2 separate regions of the Homo sapiens genome follow, and region 1 is linked to region 2. Evidence: promoter capture Hi-C in human tissues and cell types (Jung and others, 2019). All regions are on one chromosome and are shown on one strand. Each heading gives the region's core, a stretch centred on a gene start or on the middle of the fragment in contact. The rest is flanking DNA. Distances are from core to core; before and after follow the strand shown. Region 1 overlaps PTPRT (protein tyrosine phosphatase receptor type T). Region 2 holds the start of PTPRT (protein tyrosine phosphatase receptor type T).

Region 1 (5,043 bases), core at 1,833-4,332, 130 kb after region 2:
AATTCGATTATAACGATGGGTGGGATAAAGGTGTGGAGATGAGATTTGCAGATGGGATTTAATGGGGTCTGAAAAGACCCTGAGATAAAGAGTTACCTTGAAATTCTGTTGGATCAGATCTGTAAAATGGGAAGGACATAGACTTCTTTGATTTATTGTGGAGGCTAAAGGAGTGAAAACATGTTGTATCTAGAACAGTGCTAGACATGGAGTAAGTGCTCAGTAGATATTGGCAATTACTATGCACCAAACCACAGGCATGAGCTCCAGATGGTGGACACCACTTCATAGCAGTAGAGCTGCCCAGAGCCCATTCGTTGAGGACACATACTTAAAAGATGACATCTAGAGGCCCATCTGGGCTCACGGTCCAAGGAGATTTTGAAGAATTGAAGGTGACTAGTACAGTGAAGGACTTAAAGGTGCTCAACATGAGGCCGAGCACATTTGATACTCAAGACCGTTGAGTTCTGTTATAAGGAGGCAGTGGGCAGATGTCATCCACCTGGCCTCTTGAGTCGGAGTATCAGGGACCAGGATTCAGGCACATAGAAGGAAGCACTTTTAGAACTGGCTGTGCCACCCTACAGTTGAGTAGATTGTTTCTGGAGGAGCGAGAGTAGTGACGGAAAGGAGTTAAGAGGAATTAATTTTGATTCTGGAACTTCAGAAATACTTGTGGAATGCTTATTGTGAGCCTCATGCTGAAGTAGGTACCCTGACTGACCATCCATCCATCCATCCATCCATCCATCCATCCATTCATTTATCCGCCCATCCACTCACCCACCCTCCTACTTACCCACCTACCTACAGATCTGGCTATCTAGATATCTAGCTATCTATTTTAAATTTTTTATTGAGGTATAATTTAAATACTGTAAAGTATGTAGATCTTAAATATATGGGTTAGAAAGTTTTGGCTAATGCATGCACTCCTGTAACACCTATAATCTTACCAAAATACACAACCTGTCACCCCAGAAAGTACCCTTGTGCCCTTTAGTTCTCCTCCTCCCAAACAAGTCTAATTCTTACTAGGCACATTTTATTGATTGTAGAACGTCATATGAATGGTCCTACAGTGTGCAACATTTTGTGTTGAGCTTCTGGATGAAGAGCTCTCTGGAAGAGAACACAGAGGTCCTTGTTTAGTGCTAAATGCATGGTGGGCACTGTGCTAGTAGCCACATTTGTATAAATTATTTCATTCAATCTTCACAATAACCATGCAAAGTATGTATTGTTGTGCCTGTATTGCAGATAATAAAGCCGAATTAAAAATATTAACTTGCTCATAGTCACATAGATGAAAAGTGACTGCTATAGACTGAATGTTTATGTTCCCATACAATTTGTTTATTGACATCTAACCCCTGATGTGTGTTACTTGGAGGTGGGGCCTTTGGGAGATGATTAGGCCAGGAAAGAAAGCTCTTATAAATCAGTGCTCTTATAAAAGGGACTTCAGAAAGCCCCCTTGTCCCTCACACCATGTGAGGAAACAGCAAGAGGAAGACCATCCATGTTCCAGGACGCAGGTCCTCACCAGACACAGAACTTCTTGTAGCCTTGAATTTGGACTTCCCAGGCTCCAGAACAGTGAGAAATAAATTTATGTTGTTGATAAGTCACTTAGTCTATGGTGTTCTGTCACAGCAGCTCAAATGGACTAAGATAAAAATTGGTACCGAGAAATGGGGGTGCTCCTGTGCCAAACACCTGAAAATGTGGAACAGGCTTTGGAACTGGATAATGAGGCTGGAAGAGTTTTGAGGTACGTGCTAGAAAAAGCCTACACTGCCTTGAACAGACATAATAATAACAAAAATAAAATAATGTATTTTTTTTTTTTTAGACAAAGTCTCACTCTGTCTCAGAATACATTGCACTCCCAGGCTGGAGTACAATGGCACAATCTCAGCTCACTGCAACTTCCCCCTCCTGGGTTCAAGCAGTTCTCATGACTCAGCCTCCTGAGTAGCTGGGATTATAGACGTGTACCACCATGCCCAGGTAATTTTTGTATTTTTAGTAGAGGCAGGGTTTCACCATGTTGGCCAGGCTGGTCTTGAACTCCTGACATCAGTTGATCTGCCCACCTCAGTCTCCCAAAATGCTGGGATTACAGGCATGAGTCACTGGGCCTGGCTGTTGAACAGACCTTTAAAGGTGATTCTGGTGAGGGCTCAGAAGAGGAAGAAAGCTCAAGAGAAAGCCTCCACCTCCTGAGAGAATACCTAAGTAATGCTGAGTAGAATGTTGGTAGAAATACGGATGGTAAAGGCCATTCTGCTGAGGTCTCAGTTGGAGATGAGAGCCACGTTATTGGGCAATGGAGAAAAGACAATCTCTTATCAAGCGGCAAAGCTTTTAGCTGAATGAATTGTCTTCATGTTCTAGTGTTTTGTGGAAGGTAAAACTTGTGAATGATAAAATTGGATATTTAGCTGAAGCTCTTTCTAAGCAAAATGTTGAAGGTATGCCTTGGCTCCTCCTCACTGCTCAGAGTAAAATGCAAGGAAGAGAGAAATGACTCAAAAATGAAATTGTTAAGCAAAAAGGAATCAAAACTTAGAGATTTGAAAAATTCTCAGCCTATACATATTGAAAAAAAGAACATTAAGGCTATGTCCAAGCAACTGTTTGATAAGGAGATTAGTATGAATCAGCAGTCTTAACGGAAGCCAGGAGCTATTCTCCAAGACAGTGGAAGAATGACCCTAAAGTTGATTCTGAGATCGTCAGACCTGCCCCTGCCATCATAGGCTCAGAGTGCAAGGGCTAGGTGCAGGGTGCAGACTGGTTTCAAAGGAAGAGCTCCCAGTGGCTGCAGGACCTTGACATGCCCTACCTGGCGCCACCTCACATTGAAGACTCTGCTCCCCACACTCTGATGCTATACTCATTGGTCACCCGAGGTGGTCTCCAGTGGGCCCCAGTGCAGCTTGGGCCGCAGTGGCTGCAAAGAAGATAGCAGAGCCTGAATTCAAATTTGAATCTGTTGCTCTCTCTGTAAGACTGAAAAAAAAATAAGGTTTTCTTAGTCTTGGTGTATTGCATTTCACATTATATTATGTTGTACTGAAAACTGCAGCACCTTCTGAACAGACAAAAGGAGCCACTGATCAGTCTGATAATTGGAGCATGGAGAGATGTGGAGCACAATTTCCCTTGGTTATTCCTGGTTTCCATCTCACTGATGACCACTTTGTTATTTTGCATGAAGCGTTTATTGCTTAATGACATATTGTTCACATTACAATACCATTTCTGAGCAATTAGAGCAGTTACAGAGGCCTGGGCCTATGGTGTGGGGCCGTGTTAAAATTTGGAATCCATTTGTTCAATGTCATTTTCCATGTTGGGGCAGATTTTCTCTTGCCTTCCCTCTCTCCTTTCCTTCCATCCTCTTTTCTCTCTCTCTCTTCCTCTCTCCTTCTTTCTTTCTCTGGCTCTCTTTCTCTCTTCTCTCCTTCCCTCTCTCTCTTCATTGTTCTCTCTCCCCACTCACTTTCTCTTCCTCCCTCTTTCTTGCCCTCTTTCACCCGATCTCTCTCACTACTTTCCTCATATCTCTTTGTCTCTCTGTCTCATTTCTCTCTCTGTGTCTGCTCTTTTTTTCCTCCCCTCTTACTTTTTTTATTATGTAAGATAAAGCAACTACCAGGGATCTAAGTTGAGAGGCATATGGCACTAAGAAAAGGTCACTGGGCACTCTGGAAGCCCTGATGGTTTTTGTACCTGTCCTGCTTCTCTCCAGCTGTGTGCACAAGGGCAAGGCATGGAAACCTCTGCACACCACTGCCTCTGTAAAGCGTGAGTGATACTTCCTTCCTTGCCTGTTCCCCTTCTTGTTTTTTTGTTCATCTCACACATATATACTGGGTGCTTTCTATGTACTAAGCACTGGGTTAGGCATTGAGTGGGGGAACAAAACTGACTTGGCTCCTGACCTCCAGGCATTTATAGTCTAGAAGGAAGACAAAGAATAAACAAATAATCATGTGACTAATGGCAAAGGTCCTGTGAGTAGCCCCTGAACTCTCTGCAGTTATCATATTCATGTTGCCCAATCTGGAAGTACAAGGCATATTTCCCAACTCAGAACCTGGTGGTCCAGGGCCTTTGCCATCACTTTAAAGAATTCTAAGTTTTTATTTTGAAATACTTTCAGATGTACAAGAAGTTGCAAACATAGTACAGAGTTCCTTGTACCATTCACCCAGCTTTCTCTAAAGGTAATATTTTACATAATCATAGTAATATTGTCAAAACCAGGAAATTGTTAACTTAGAGATCTACCTTATTTGGACTTCACTAGTTTTCACATGCACTTTCTTTTTTAGTTTTTTTCTTCCCTTTCATTCCCTTTTCCTTTTTCCTTTCCTTTCAACCCTCCTTTTCCTTCCTCCCCTCTCTTCCCCTCCCCTCCTTCCCTCCTTCCTTCTTTTCCTCCTTTCCTTCCCTTCCTTCCCTACCTCCCTGCCCTTCCTTCCTTTCTCCCCTCCCCTCCTTCTCCCCTTCCCCCCTCCTCCTCCATTCCTTCCCCCCTCCCCTCCCCTTCCCCCCCTTCCTCCTTCCTTCATTCCCCACCCTCCCAACCCCCATGAACTTTCATCATGTGTGTAGATTCAAGTGACTATCCCCACAGTCAGGAGGCAGAACTGACCCATGACCACAAAGAAACTCTCCTGTGTTACTGTTTAAGAGACACACTCTTCCCCACCCAAGCCCCTGGCAACTACTGATCTGTTTTCTATCACTACAATTTTGTCATGTCAAGAATGTTATATAAGTAGAATCAGACAGTAGAAAGGCCCTTGAGATTGGCCTTTTTTCCCTCAGCACAATGCCCTGGAGATTCATCAAGGTTGTTGCATGCATCGATAGTTCATTTGCCATCACTTTTAAGATAAAAGGAAGCAGGAATAAGGACGCTTGAGGAAAAATTTCCTTTGCAAAAATACTTTGTTTTCAAGACTAGCCTTTACTTGGGTTTTGTTCCCCCTCAGAAACCTGGAACAATTAATCCGTTTGAGT
Region 2 (4,607 bases), core at 1,578-4,077:
TAAAAGAGTTTGTAGGGCAGAATGCCATCTCTTACAAAGCTCACCCTGCCTCCTTCCTTCAGCACTGATGCAATGCTGGGCCCAGCCCCTAGCCAAGCAAATCTTGGTCATGTCCCAGCTCCCTGGGCTGATGGGGTCAGAGGGGAAAGAGGGCTCCCTGTGCAGGAGGGTGGGAGATGATGCTGTAACTTTCCATTAGTTCCCTCCCCTGAGAAGCCAGCTAGCTGGAAGCTTTGTGTAAGGCATCTTCAGCCCTGTGCCAGCCCTCTCTCTCCACCCCCACACCCCCATCTCCTAGCAGCCCTGTGGTAAGTGTCCAGGTTCCCTTTGGCAACTCAAGTCTTGTAGAACACATGAAGAGGAGACAACATTTCCACAATGTAAAAAGCACCACCACAGTGACCTGCGCTGGGGAACATGCCTTGAGCAGGAAGGGCCCGCTGGCCAAAGTTCCAAAGGGAAGCCCTAAGGGCTAGTGTGAGTTTCCCAGGGAGATGATACAGTGCAGGGCTTCCAGGCAGAGGGACTGGCCGGTGCAAAAGCGTGGCAGTGCTGTGGGTGCCAGAGCCTGGCCGGGCAGCAGGTGGCAGCACGTGCTACTGAAGGAGAGGGGGCAGTTTCTCGGAGTAGAGGGAGGTTTAGAAAGCACAGAGGGTCACGGTTCATGACCACGGTGCACCTGGGCAGGTAAGTCCTGGTGCAGGATCAGGTCCCACTCCACCAGCTCAGTGACTACTGAATTTTTTTTTTCCCCTCGGGGCCACATGAACCCCATTCAGACCTGGGGGATTTGTCTGCAGTGATATCACATCCCTAAAGCAGGAGTGCAGGGGGGTGCCAAAGGGCGTTGCTCTGAGGATGCTGTGAGAACTGCTATTTTATAGTTTTCCAGAAAGCTTGAGAGAGGGGATGAATTGGCAGGAGCCCAAGAAAGTGGCAACAAGTTACAAGTGTGACACCAAGCTCTTTAGTGGCTTAGAAATCTCCCCACCCGGGTCATCCCCTGGGATCTGCCATGACTGGGGTCGCTTGTGGTGGTCTTGGGTCAGGCCTCTCCTCGCACACTTCCTAACTGCTCATCTGCCCAAGGCAGGGTTAGAATGAGTGAGTGATGGAGCAAACAGCTGGAAGCTCAGCTCTGAGCAGAAGGGATCTTTCCATTCCAATTGTCCCTAAGGGCTATAGCATTGTGGTATCCCCAGAGAACAGCACAGAGTAAGGCACACAATTAAATGCACCATAAATATTGGTAGAATTATTAATCTCCAAAGCAGCTTGTAAAAGGTTCAACTCCCAGGCCACCCCCGACAGGCCTGCCAAATTCCACTCTCCCCAGCAGGGGTCTGGGAAGCAGGACTTGGAGAAATCTTCCTGGTAGTTCTTTGACCAGGCAAGTGTGGGAGGCACTGGCTGGTCCAACAGGCTAGTCCAAGCACGTCAGCTTTTGAAAGTGGTCACGGTCATGGTGGTGGTGGTGGGAGTCGGGGTCCGGAGAGGGGTGGAAGAATTTGCCTGGGATTGTAAATTGGGCTTCCATGCCAGGGAACTGGGCCACTTTACCTAGTGGGGACTGGGAACTGGGGACTGACAGAGTGACGCCCTGTGTTCTCTGCCATGCCAACTTGGGTCCAGAGCCTGGGGCTCCCCACTTTTGGAAACCCTGCCATGCTTGATTTTCACAATTCACTTACAGTCTCCCCAGTCCAGTCCCTGGTACCCCAACAAGGATGGGGGTGGGGGGCTGTGCTGACACAGAAGAAGGAGGGCTTTGGCCAGGTAGCAAAGTGTTCACAAAGTGTGAATCCCTTAAGCATTTCTGGGTATCCCTGCCCCTGGCTTTTACATCTCAGACCCCCAGCCAAGACTCAGGTACCAGCTGCCTCCCAGGACAGCAGAGAGCCAGGCTGTGGGCCGTGGGCTGCCAGGGACAGCTCCAACCCTGATCTATGGTTTTAGGCTTTCAGCCCCAACCAGGTCTTTGTTAAGACCGAGAAGAAAAGGGAAAAAGCTACAAGGTTCTGTCTCCCTAGAAAAGGAAAGGGAAGGCTGCCAGGGAAAAATTGTAGGGGGTGGGGGGATGCCTCATGCCCCTTCTGCGCCCCCTTCCGCGTGGTGGTGGGGACAAGAGAGAGATGTGGGTGAAGAAGAAGGTGGGGTGGGCGGCTAATTGAGGGGGACGACGATTGTGGCGCGGTCAGCGATGCGCCCAGAAGAGTGTGAGTGGGTTGTGTGTGTGTGCGCGCGCGCGCTCTTAGATGAAATTCTCATCTCAGGGTGTGCCCGAGACCCTGGCCAGCAGCCGCCTGCCCCAGCTTTGGGCAGACGCCCCCACCCGCTTTCGCAATTCACCTGGCCCCTTATCTTGAGTTGCGAGGGCTGCTCCCTCCCTCCCTCTTCTCGCCACCGAACCCCCATTCACCTGTTCCCCACCCCGAGTTCAAACGGCTGCTGCAGCTTCCTCCTCCCCGCACCGCCCCCGTACCTGCGCCCCCACAGGGCAGACGATGCTTGGCTGCGCGGCGCGGCGCGGGGCGAAGAGGCGAGGACCCTGCCCGGCGTGTGGGTGCGGGGGTGATGTGTGGACGCGCGTGACTGTGCCAGCGGCCCGAGCTGGTCGGCCCCGGAGAGGGTGCGCGGGGGAGCCCGCGTGTGCCAGCCGCGGGCGTGTGCCAGGCGCGGGCGTGCGCGTGAGGGTGTGTGCACGGCCGAGGCGGAGCGCCCGGGCGGGCGGCGGCGGCGGCGGCGGCGGCAACGGCGGCGGCGTTAGGACTCGGGGGACACCGCCCCCCGCCCCCCGCGTCCCGCCCCCGCCCAGCCTCCCGCCTCAGTTCGCGCCGCGCCTCGGCTTGGAACGCAGGAGCGCCGGCTCCGGGAGCCCGAGCGGAGCCAGCCGCGCGCACAGCCAGCGGCCGCGCCGGCGATGCGGGGCCACCCCGCGCCCGCCCCAGTCCCGGCCCCGGCCCCCGCGGGAAGGGGCTGAGCTGCCCGCCGCCGCCCGGATGGCGAGCCTCGCCGCGCTCGCCCTCAGCCTGCTCCTGAGGCTGCAGCTGCCGCCACTGCCCGGCGCCCGGGCTCAGAGCGCCGCAGGTGAGTGCGCCCGCCCGGCTCCCCTGGGCTCCCCGCTCCCTCCTGGATGCGCGCGGGCCCCCAGCCGCGGGGCCCTCGGAGGAGAAAGTTGTGTGGGCTCGCGGGGGCGCGGGTCCCCATGGCCGGAACCCGGGTCTCAGCTTGCAGGCGCGGGAAGCAGTGTCCCCGCGCGCCCCGGCCAGCGAGCCCGGCCCCTCGCGTCCCTCGGCAGCCCGCGTTTGGCGAAGTTCCCCGCTTCAGTTTCCTGCCGGCCCCCCGGGCTGGAGTAACTTTCCGCGGTTGTTGCGAATATTTCCACTTGCTGCCTCCCACTTGTCGGAATCTGCCACTTGAGTGTTTGGGGCGGCGAGACGAGGAGCGGCACCGACGCCCGGGGTGGAGCGTTCTCTCCCGGGCAGCTCCTCGGGCAGCGCGCGCTTTTAGTGGGGAGGACAGGTCCCCAGCAGGCCGAGGCTGCCGGGGCGGCGGCTTTTCTTTTTTCCTCGGAGATACAGGAAGCTCTCCATTTGCTCTGAACACGCTGCTCCCCTAAGCAGGCCGCTGTAGGCACCCGAGGGGATGTTTGCGTTGATGACCGAGAGCAATACCTCCGCCCTACCCGCTGGCTTTTCTCCGAGGTAGCTGGGCGCCCGTGTTAAGGCCCTTGGAGGGGAGTGGATTTGACCCGTGAGCGCGTCCGCTCCTGAAAAGTTCGGGGAACTCATATTTGGGTTTGGCCACGGGAAGGCGGTGAGCAGAGGTAGTTCCCCAGAGTAGGGGGAGCGGGGGCGGGGGGGTGGTGCCTGCCGTGCTCCTAAAGGCACGTTGGCGGGTGCTGGAGGGCACCACAGTCCAGGGTCTTACACATCACCAAGCCCCACCGCAGGCAGCTTCCACCCCCGAGCCCCCCCCCCCCCAAGAGTAGCGGCGGAGGGAAGAGAAGGGAGTGCTGCAGGTGTACTTCCAAGTTCAAAATCACCTTAAAGTTTCTTAGCACCGATTGCTTTTGGTGTAACCACGCCGGCCTGAGGTGGCTGGGATTGCGGGGACAGGCTGAGATCAGCCCGTGGGACGCAGGAACAGGCTGGTTTCGGATCGCTAAGCAACAGCTGTGCCCATTTATTATTTCACCGAAAGAAGGAAAGGAAGAAAGAAAGAGCAAAAGAACGAACCTGTGGGGAGGTACAGCGTCTTTGCACAAGCTGCGTCTGAGGTTAAGGGCCGCTGGAAGGACATTCCGTTGGAAATGCTTTAGAGCCTTCCTTGCTTGGTACTAAAATGGAAGCGGAATAGGCGACTTCTGTGAAGGGACAGCCTGTTTCCCTGGCTGGGAAGTTGGGTGACGAAGACACTCCTTTTGAGGTGTGTGAAGCTGAAAGGTTGGATTAGCAAGTGAGAGAAGAGGGACAGCTACAGCACCATTCTAAAGATGGTGCACAATTCTTGTTTTCCTCATTTTGGGGGGTGTGTTAGGTGTGCTAGGGGAGGGAGGGGTACTAGGGAGGATGCCCGGGGCAGTCCTGGGGATCCAGGCATGATTC

What was found. The method cuts DNA at HindIII sites, captures the fragments that hold promoters and counts their contacts. A contact is called where the count stands out against the background at its distance.
Region 1: a fragment that was not itself captured here is called in contact with the fragment with the promoter of PTPRT in region 2 in 1 of the 25 tissues and cell types used here (dorsolateral prefrontal cortex).

Annotation. Positions count from the first base shown.
Region 1 is chr20:43,056,807-43,061,849 of GRCh38, reverse strand. All of the region lies in intron 1 of PTPRT (protein tyrosine phosphatase receptor type T), which reads left to right. Among named protein-coding and RNA genes, the nearest start is that of PTPRT-AS1, 91 kb to the right of the region's middle. The HindIII fragment of the contact is 3,903 bases long and covers 1,131-5,033 here.
Region 2 is chr20:43,188,126-43,192,732 of GRCh38, reverse strand. It overlaps PTPRT (protein tyrosine phosphatase receptor type T), which reads left to right and starts at 2,827. Exons shown (of 31, transcript NM_007050.6): 1 at 2,827-3,087. The coding sequence starts at 3,000. PTPRT-DT (PTPRT divergent transcript) reads right to left here and starts at 2,668. Exons shown (of 3, transcript NR_186414.1): 1 at 2,483-2,668. The HindIII fragment of the contact is 13,787 bases long and covers 565-4,607 here.